Regions from separate parts of the Homo sapiens genome. Here region 2 is linked to region 1. Evidence: promoter capture Hi-C in human tissues and cell types (Jung and others, 2019). All regions are on one chromosome and are shown on one strand. Each heading gives the region's core, a stretch centred on a gene start or on the middle of the fragment in contact. The rest is flanking DNA. Distances are from core to core; before and after follow the strand shown.

Region 1 (4,817 bases), core at 612-3,111:
TTAAGAATTTAATAAGAGTTTTGATCCATCTGAAATTTATTTTGATGTGTGGCATAAGATAGGAAGCCAACTGTATTTTGACAAGCTAGTTGTCCCAAAATCATTTACTGATAAATCCTTCATTTCCCCATGGATTTGAAGTGCCACATTTAGCATACATTTAATACATGTATTTTGATCTATGGACTTTTCAATTACAGTAATATCATATTATGTGTTCATATCTAGGAAGGCTGGTCACACTTTATTATTATCTTAGAAATTTCCTTTTGAACCTTAGAATCAGTTTACCTAGTTTCAAAAAACAATCTTGGTGTTTTTATTGGGAATGAATTAAACTTAAGATCAACTTGGGAAGAAATGACCGCTTTATAAAGTTGAGTTGTCCTACACAGGATGGTGATCTTCCTTTTTATCTGCTCAAGTCTTATTTGGTGTCCCTCCATACCGTTTCCAAGTGTTTTACTGACAGCACTTCACATTTCTTAAGTTTATTTCTAGAAATTTCACCTTTTGTTGTTGTTGCTATTATAGGTTGGGTCTTTAATTACAGTTTCTGACTTGTTATTGATTGCAGGTATGAAAACTATTGGCTTCTATACTTTTGGTATTAGCCAGCTCACTAAATTACCTTTTATAATCATTGTTAGTAGATTCAAGTTTTCCAGGTAAAAAATGACATCTTCAAATAATGAAAAATTAACTTCTTCATTTCTTATGAAGGATTTTTTTTTTTTTTTCTGAGATGGAGTCTTGCTCCATGCTGGCTGTGCAGTGGCACGATCTTGGCTCACTGCAACCTCAGCCTCCCAGGTTCAAGCAATTCTTCTGCCTTAGCCTCCTGAGTAGCTGGGAGTACAGGCGCCTGCCACCACGCCCAGCTAATTTTTGTATTTTTAGTAGAGAGAGGGTTTCACCATATTGGCCAGGCTGGTCTCGAACTCCTGACCTCAGGTGATCCGCCTGACTTGGCTTCCCAAAGTGCTGGGATTACAGGCATGAGCCACTGCGCTAGTGAAAGGCAGAAGTTTCATTTTTTTTTTTTTTTTTTTTTTTTACATAATAAGATCCTTCAAATGAGTTCAAAAGTTCAAAGTTTTAAAAGTATAAAAGAGTAAACAGCAGAAAGATAACCTTTCTACCCCACTGCCCAGATCCCCTCCCCACAGGCAACCAATATTTTTGGCAGTGTGTTTTATATCATTCTATAGACGTCTCATGTATATGCAGCAAGTACAGCTGCCCTGAAAGTGCTTCTGGTAACACAGTTTCACAAGCCCAGGTAGGGCCAAATATGAGATCCTTCTCTTGTCTCTTCAGGAACTAAAGAAAGAAAAATTGAAAAGACATAGGGCCTGAGTCCCAAGATAGTTCCCAACCTTCTCTGGTAGAGGGTCCCAGACCAGGTAGGCTTGGAAGAGTTGGGGCCCCAGCTTCTACTTTTAATACATTTATTTTTCACCAACAAATTCTACTTCCTTATCTTTTTCACACAGATAAATTGCAGATGCACGTGTTCTCTCTATTATCAAAACAGCCCATGAACATCTTGCAACTTGCAGCCCCTGTCACGTTTAGGGCCTGAGATTTGGAGTTGGATATGGGACTCCTGTTTGTGGCCTCCTCTCTTCCAGAGTCTTCCAGTGCAGTCCAGATAACATCTCTGAGAGTCTCTTGAGACCACTGAAGCAAGAGGCTTCAAGGTTTGTTCTAGGCTTCTCTAGTTGGCAGGTCTTCCCCATCCCACCCCCTCCCCCAGGGCTGCCAGGCGTATTCCTGCCTGGGCCTCCTGGCACAAGAGATAAAATGAACAGGGTTACTCCCAGTAACTGGTCCAGGAGATACCAGCAGAGAGGGAGTAGGAGAGAAGAAACATGTCAGGGTGCTCACAGGAGTAGTGGGGGGAGGTTTTGCTATTTCCAGATTCTTAAGCCAACAAAAGTGCCTTCATATTTTCTGTCTGGAAGACAGAAAGCCCAGAAGGAGCCCAGAAGCAACAGTTTGAGAGAGGCGCTTTCTGCGGCCAAGTGGATAAGAGGAGCGGCCTGCAACCATGGGACAGGGTGAGCCAAGCCAGCGCTCGACAGGGCTTGCTGGACTGTATGCAGCCCCCGCAGCATCACCTGTTTTCATTAAAGGAAGTGGGATGGATGGTAGGCGGGGAGATGGTGGTATAACTATGGTGGGGGAGGGGGTACTGGTGATAATGAGGTGGCTGTGGGGGGGGGGTGTGGTAGGTGGGTGCTGGTAGAGGTGATAGTGAGCTGGCTGTGGAGCGTGGTGTGATGATGGGTGCTGGTGGAGGCGGAGGCGGAGGTGATGGTGATGTTGCTGTGGGGTGGTTATGGGGTAGCATGTTGGGGTAAACTGGTCATGATAGTTGTATGATGGTGAGATGGTGATGGTGGTTAACATGGATTTATATTCTTATCCCAAGGTCATCATAGCATAAGTGTTCACAGCTTACTGATACAAATGAGAGACACCCTGGGTAGCATGAAGGTGTCACAGCTTCTACACCAAATGGGAGAGAAGGAGAGGAGGGAGTCAGGGAATCCACCTAAAAGGGGCAGAGGCAGACACAAAGCAAGAAACCAACACAGGTGGTCAGAGTCGCAGCACTCTTGGCAGGAATTATTATATCCTGGCCTGGGAATTGCCTGGCTGTTTTGTGTCCTGGGAGAAGCAAGCGGGTAGGCAGAGGGAAATGGTGCAGAGGTGTGGGGACAGTGGGGTGCAGCTGTGGTTCTGTTGCTATAGAAACTGCCTCACTCCCCTGCCCTGGTTGGTCTGGTGTGCGGAGGGCAACTGACGCTGAGACCAACAGCTGAGAAGGGAAGAAAAAGAACTCTGGGTGAATTAAGTCAATAATCTCAGCCACGTCTTGTGAAAATAGGGCAGACACCAATAAATTGTCCTTTTTTTTTTTTTTTTTAAACGGAGTCTCTCTCTGTCACCAGGCTAGAGTTCAGTGGCGCAATCTCGGCTCACTGCAACCTCCGCCTCCTGGGTTCAAGTGATTCTCCTGCCTCAGCCTTCTGAGTAGCTGGGACTACAGGCACCCACCACCATGCCCGGCTAATTTTTTGTATTTTTAGTAGAGACGGAGTTTCACCTTGTTGGCCAGGATGGTCTCGATCTCTTGACCTCGTGATCCTCCGCCTCGGCCTCCCAAAGTTCTGGGATTACAGGCGTGAGCCACTGCGCCTGGCCAAATCGTTCTTTTTATTCTGTAGAGACCAGACAAATTAAAATCTACTCAATCAGAGAAACACAAAGATATCAGGAGATTGTTTAGTCTAGTCCCAAACCAGAGGATGCCCCTGGGCACTAAATTCTTTCCAGGCAGTGGGTGGCAGAGGGCCCAGTAGCCACCAGATGAGAATCACTGAGTATGAACTCATGACATGCTGCAGTGGCTGGAGCTGGCTTGTGCTGACTTGCAAGAGCCAATTGCTAAATTTTGAGGAACCTTGTGAACCAGTTCTTAAACACAGGCATTATTAAAAATTAAATTGTATAAACTTACAAGTAAAAAATTTATATTAAAAAGAAAGATAATAAGTACTCTAAACTCATCACTTCCTACGTATTTTACTCCTTTTTACCTTTATGTTCTTGAGGGCGTTTATGTCTCCTGTATCTCTGTGCTGGAAAAACCACATGATGATGTGCCAGTCCGCGCCTCTTCACAGCTCTGCGCTTGCTGACATCACCTCAGTAGCTTCAGACTGGCCACAGGGGGCGTAGTTTACACAACAGAACTTGGCAAATGCTGTAACTCAGTACGCCCTTTCCCCTCACCGCCCCCTCCCCCCAGCCAGTCGTTAAACACAGAACTGCTTGAGGGGCACATCTGAGGCAGCTCTGGGGTATTGTGAAAGGCAGAGAGGGAGGAGGGTGGGGTATTGTGCACCTCTGAAGAGCATTCCACATGATCTCCGGGTTAACACAACTTCTCATGGGCTGTGGTACAAATAGGAGATGGTGAGAAAACACGAAGGTATCATTGCCTCAAGACCCAGTGGGAGAGAAGGGGAGGCAGGAGTCAATGAATCCACCTAAAAGGGGCAGAGGCAGAGATAAACCAAGAAACCAGGCAGACCTAAAGAATGCAGAAACCTCAGGGGCCCTGCGAGGGTCTGGCAGCACAGGTGGGGGCCTGAGGCCCCTGTGATGTATCTGAGAAAATCTCCTTTAAGGCCGTCTCAATGTTCTCATCCATTCATTGACGGAGCAAACACTGATTGGCTATCTATTGAGTTCTGCTGGGACAGAGGATGCAGATATGAGAAAGCACTGTATCTTGGGGAGCTCACAGTGAAAAGGGGAGCAGAGGACTAAGCAGGTGATGGGTATCAAATGGGATAAGTGCTGAAGAAAGTGGAGCAGAGTACTGTGGGAGTCCAGAGGACTGACCTCTGCCAGGAGGAGTCAGTGAAGGCTACAGAGGTGGGTGCCTTTGGATCTTGGAAGATGAGTAGACATCTGCCAGGTAGAGAAGAGATGGTGGGAGCCTTCTAGACAGAACAAGAATCCAAATGAATTCTAGTGACTCTTGCCGTAACACTATGGTCATTACGTGGGTTCGGATACACGGAGGCTCAAGTCATATGACTTAGGATGTGACTAAGGCATTCCACCATCCAATCCAACTCAACCAGTCTGCAGAGGCAGGGCTTACCCTGGGCCCCAGCACGAGCTTTGTGCTAAGCAGAAAGAGGAATCGTTTTTGGTTTCTGAGTGCTGCTGTACTTCAGTTTACAAATCCCAGCCTCCCCATGGCTACTTTATCTATAGCCATGGCCTGACCAAGC
Region 2 (4,817 bases), core at 814-3,313, 140 kb before region 1:
GGTGAACAACAGTGTGCTGTGTTCTGAAGGGAAGAGTCTGACAGGAATGGGTATGGTAGGCACTAAGGTTAAGGTTCACCAGGGTAGCATGTGCACTGGCAAGCAAGAGCCTGCGGTTAGGTAGAACAGTGACTGCTGCAATTATCTGGGTGTGAGAGGATAAGTAGTCTGGACTTGGATGGTGGCAGTAGGAATAGAGAGGAAGGACTACTAAGGTGAACACCTTTAGAACCTGGTGACTGACTGTGAAGGAAACGGATAAGGTAAAGACAATCTTCTCTCGCTTCCCCCTTGAAATCACGCCGAGTTTAATTCTGTAGCCCCAAGTGAAGAACAATTATTCCCAGCAGTACTAGGACCTGCCTACAAATAGGAGAGCTTGGAATAGAATTATCTGCTCTGAACACACAACAGAATCCTTTCCTCTCTTGTCACCCTGCTCTGGAAAATAAAACATTTCTCATCTTTTGAGGTTTCCTGTATTTTCCCCACCTTTTTCAGCCCACTGAACTTTCTGAAAACATTTCCCTAGACACTTTGTTTATAATCCTCTTGGATGAAAAAGGCAGGACTGAATTTCAAGATTTTTGTGATAATCAGTCCAAACTATGACAACTTTTGTTTGTTTCCCTGCAAGCAGGATTGCCATTTCCTAAATCCGGTGTGGTCTCCAGGTTGGAGCAAGGAGAGCCATGGATCCCAGATCTGCTGGGCTCTAAGGAGAAAGAACTTCCAAGTGGCAGCCACATAGGAGACAGACGAGTGCATGCTGATCTGTTACCATCCAAGAAAGATAGAAGAAGCTGGGTGGAACAGGATCACTGGAGCTTTGAAGATGAGAAGGTGGCAGGTGTGCACTGGGGCTATGAAGAGACCAGAACGCTCCTCGCAATTCTCAGCCAGACTGAGTTTTATGAGGCTCTCAGAAACTGCCATAGGAACAGCCAAGTGTATGGGGCTGTGGCTGAGCGGCTCAGGGAATATGGCTTCCTCCGGACCCTGGAACAGTGTCGGACCAAGTTCAAAGGTCTCCAGAAGAGCTATCGGAAAGTCAAGAGCGGCCACCCACCTGAGACCTGCCCCTTCTTTGAAGAGATGGAAGCCCTGATGAGTGCTCAGGTCATTGCCCTGCCCAGTAATGGCCTGGAAGCAGCAGCCTCTCACTCTGGCCTGGTAGGCAGCGATGCTGAGACTGAAGAGCCAGGGCAGAGGGGCTGGCAGCATGAGGAGGGAGCAGAAGAGGCTGTGGCTCAGGAGTCTGACAGTGATGACATGGATCTAGAGGCGACCCCCCAGGACCCCAACTCAGCTGCACCTGTTGTGTTCAGAAGCCCAGGTGGTAAGAAGCTTTTCTTCTTGGAGTTTTGGAATTAGACTTGGGGAACAAAGAGACTGGATGTGGAGTCAGAAGGCTTAATGTCACATGCCAGCTTTGCCACTTAGGGAACAAAGAAGTGCTTCTCCATTCTTTGTGTGTATTTCATTCTCTTTTATGGGAAAATCAGTGAGATAATTGGGAATACATTTAGATTTTTAGAAGAAATACACTCAGAAAATTCACAGTCCTGAGAAGGAGTATCATTCCTTCCATTTCTTTACTAAACTATTTTTTTCCCTGATTTTAAAATCATTGCAGCAGGCTCACTGAGAAAAATGTGGCACAATATTATCTTTAAGTAGAACCAGTGTTTATTGAGTATGTCATATGAACTTGATGTTTTACATATTTTATCTTTTACTTCCCCAAAGCTCAAAGTCAGTTTATTATATTCGTTTTTACTTAGAATAGTACAGTGAAGAATTGTCCAAAGTTGGGGAAACATTTTTTTCTTTAAAAATTTTAAAATATATTTAAACAGAGACAGGGTCTTGCTGTGTTGCCCAGGCTGGTCTCACTGGGTTCAAGCAGTCCTCCCACCTCAGCCTTCTGAGTAGTTAGGACTACAGGTGTGAGCCACCACACTGAGCTGGGAAACATCTAAGTTTCCTCTGAGATTCATAGTATACATTGGCATTTTAACAGGATTGAGAAGTCCTACAGTGAGAAAGCTTGTTTAACACTCTATTTAAATATTCTTGCCTATGGAATCCTTTTTAAAGTATCATTTACTACCATTAATGTAATCGGTACAACTATGCTGTTATGGAAAGAGCACCAAAGTATGACTCAGGAGGCTTAGATTCTAATCCTGATGACCACTAATAAACTGGGCGACCTTGAGCAGTTATCTAACCATTCTAAGCTTCCATTTCCTCAAGTGTAAAATGGGGCAAAGCAGGAGGACTACATCGCTAAAGTTGCAGTTCCTTTGTGAGCAGTGGTCTTTTCCTTCTGTTTTTTGTGACATGCATGATCTTATTTTAGTTCTGTTCTAGCTTTCTGGTCTTTGTGTCTTCTGCTTTTTCGTTTCTCTTTATTTTTCTTGTTTTCTTCATTCTCTTTTTCCTTTTTTGTTGCAGACACAAATATATGTAGGTTAATTAAATGTGGCACATGTGCTCAATGTTATTTTCATTATCATTGTTCTTTCACTTTTTTTTTTTTTTTTTTTTTTTGAGACAGAGTCGCTTTGTTGTCCAGGCTGGAGTGCAGTGGTGTGATCTCATCTCACTGCAACCTCCACCTCCCCAGTTCAAGCGATTCTCGATTCTCATGCCTCAGCCTCCCAAGTAGCTGGGACTATAGGTGCACACCACCACGCCTGGCTAATTTTTCTGTGTTTTTAGTAGAGACAGGCTTTCACCATGTTGTCCAGGCTGGTCTCAAACTCCTGGCCCCAAGCGATCCACAGGGATTACAGGCATAAGCCACTGTGCCTGGCCAGCTTCTTTTTTATATGGCTAAACAGAATTTGTAAATAAAGGTCTCTGTGAAATTGCTAAAGGATATAAAGAAGCAAAACATTCTATACTGAGTTTGTGGATTTTGGAAACATGAAGTATTTTTACTTTTTCATCTAGGAGCCTGAGCTTAGGTGAATTCTCATGATGCAGATGATAGGACTGAGGAATTCAGGCTCTAAAGCTCTGGATTAAGTGGTGCTGAAATTTCTCTTCTGGTGGCAGGTGTACACTGGGGCTATGAAGAGACCAAGACTTACCTTGCAATTCTTAGTGAGACCCAGTTTTATGAAGCCCTCCGGAACTGTCACCGCAACAGCCAGCTGTATGGAGCAGTGGCTGAGAGGTTATGGGAATATGGCTTTCTTAGGACCCCAGAACAGTGTCGGACCAAGTTTAAAAGCCTGCAAACCAGCTATCGGAAAGTTAAGAATGGCCAGGCACCAGAGACCTGTCCCTTCTTTGAAGAGATGGATGCTTTGGTGAGTGTCCGGGTTGCTGCCCCACCCAATGATGGCCAGGAAGAGACTGCTTCTTGCCCCGTCCAGGGGACCAGTGAGGCTGAAGCTCAGAAGCAAGCTGAGGAAGCAGACGAGGCCACAGAGGAAGATTCTGATGATGATGAAGAGGATACTGAGATACCCCCAGGGGCTGTCATAACCCGTGCTCCAGTGTTATTCCAAAGCCCCCGTGGTAAGATTATTTCACTATTATGGTATAAATAACAAAGGGAAGACAATGGGACTTAGGAAAAATATCATCTGATTGAGAACTGGCCTCTACACCCAGCTTTCATGGATTCTTCTTGTGACCACCCATATTTCTTGTCTATTAAAGCAGCTCACTGAGGGGATATAAATTATTTATGTGACTTGACTTCCCACACTAGAGCATCAATCTGAGATAGCTGCACATTGTAAATTTGCTGTGATTTATTCATGAACCACTAGGTTTCCAACCAGTTTACTAAGCAGGGAATCTGAAAGCTCACATTTCTCAAGTAGCATGTCACGTACCCACGGTAGGATGAAGTTGATTTTAAAAGTTCATTCTCTTTTATATGTCTTCTTCTAGTTTCAGCTCATATACCAGCTGTATGTCTGCTTTATTCACATTTATGAAAATCTGATAACTGTTGTTCACTTTTATGAATCTGAGGTTCCTGAGAGAACTGACCCTTTGAATCTTAGCTGCTAGATAAGAAAAAAATACTTCACAAGGGCTTCCATCCTTGTGAGAAGAGTTCTGATTTCAGAGTCATATATGTGTACGTATGTGAATCTGGGCTCTGTTGTTTATTAGTTAAGTGACTTAGAGAAGGTTACTTAAGGCTGGGCATGGTGGCACATGCCTGTAATCCCAGCATTTTGGGAGGCCGAGGCGGGCAGATCACCTGAGGTCGGGAGTTGGAAAGCAGCCTGACCAACACGGCGAAACCCCATCTCTATTAAAAATACAAAAAATTAGCCAGGGGTGGTAGCGCGCACCTGTAATCCCAGCTACTTGGGTGGCTGAGGCAGGAGAATCGCTTGAACCTGGGAGGCAGAGGTTGCAGTGAGCTGAGATCGTGCCATTGCACTCCTGCCTGGGCAACGAATGAAAAAAAAAAAAAAGTTACTTAACCCCCAAGTTTGCTTATATATTAAGACCTACCTCATAGGGTTGATGTAAATGAGGTACTGTGCACAGTGCCTGGCACATAGTAGCCATTTAATAATAGTTTTCATTTTCATAAGTCTTTAAGATCAGCATTTTTTAATGTTGTTCCCTGGAATATCAATTCCATGGGGTATTAATATATTCTACTAAAAAATAACTTATAGGTTTGGGAAGATGGTAAATACCCCTGTTGGAGGCTCACAATACATATTCACATATTTAAGGTTCTAAGATTTATTTAATCTAGTGAATATTTCATGAAATATCTCATAAGACTAGGCTTCTGGGTAGAAATACTGTCTCAGGAGGTACAAACA

Evidence for each region. Contacts are between HindIII fragments. The study calls those that stand out against the background at their distance.
Region 2: a contact is called between a fragment that was not itself captured here and the fragment with the promoter of EPB42 in region 1, in 1 of the 25 tissues and cell types used here (pancreas).

What each region holds. Positions count from the first base shown.
Region 1 is chr15:43,218,062-43,222,878 of GRCh38, reverse strand. It overlaps EPB42 (erythrocyte membrane protein band 4.2), which reads left to right and starts at 1,861. Exons shown (of 13, transcript NM_001114134.2): 1 at 1,861-2,063. The coding sequence starts at 2,054. The HindIII fragment of the contact is 9,374 bases long and covers 1-4,817 here.
Region 2 is chr15:43,362,632-43,367,448 of GRCh38, reverse strand. It overlaps ZSCAN29 (zinc finger and SCAN domain containing 29), which reads left to right. Exons shown (of 6, transcript NM_001372080.1): 4 at 641-1,339; 5 at 3,067-3,534. Among named protein-coding and RNA genes, the nearest start is that of ZSCAN29, 6.0 kb to the left of the region's middle. The HindIII fragment of the contact is 3,910 bases long and covers 109-4,018 here.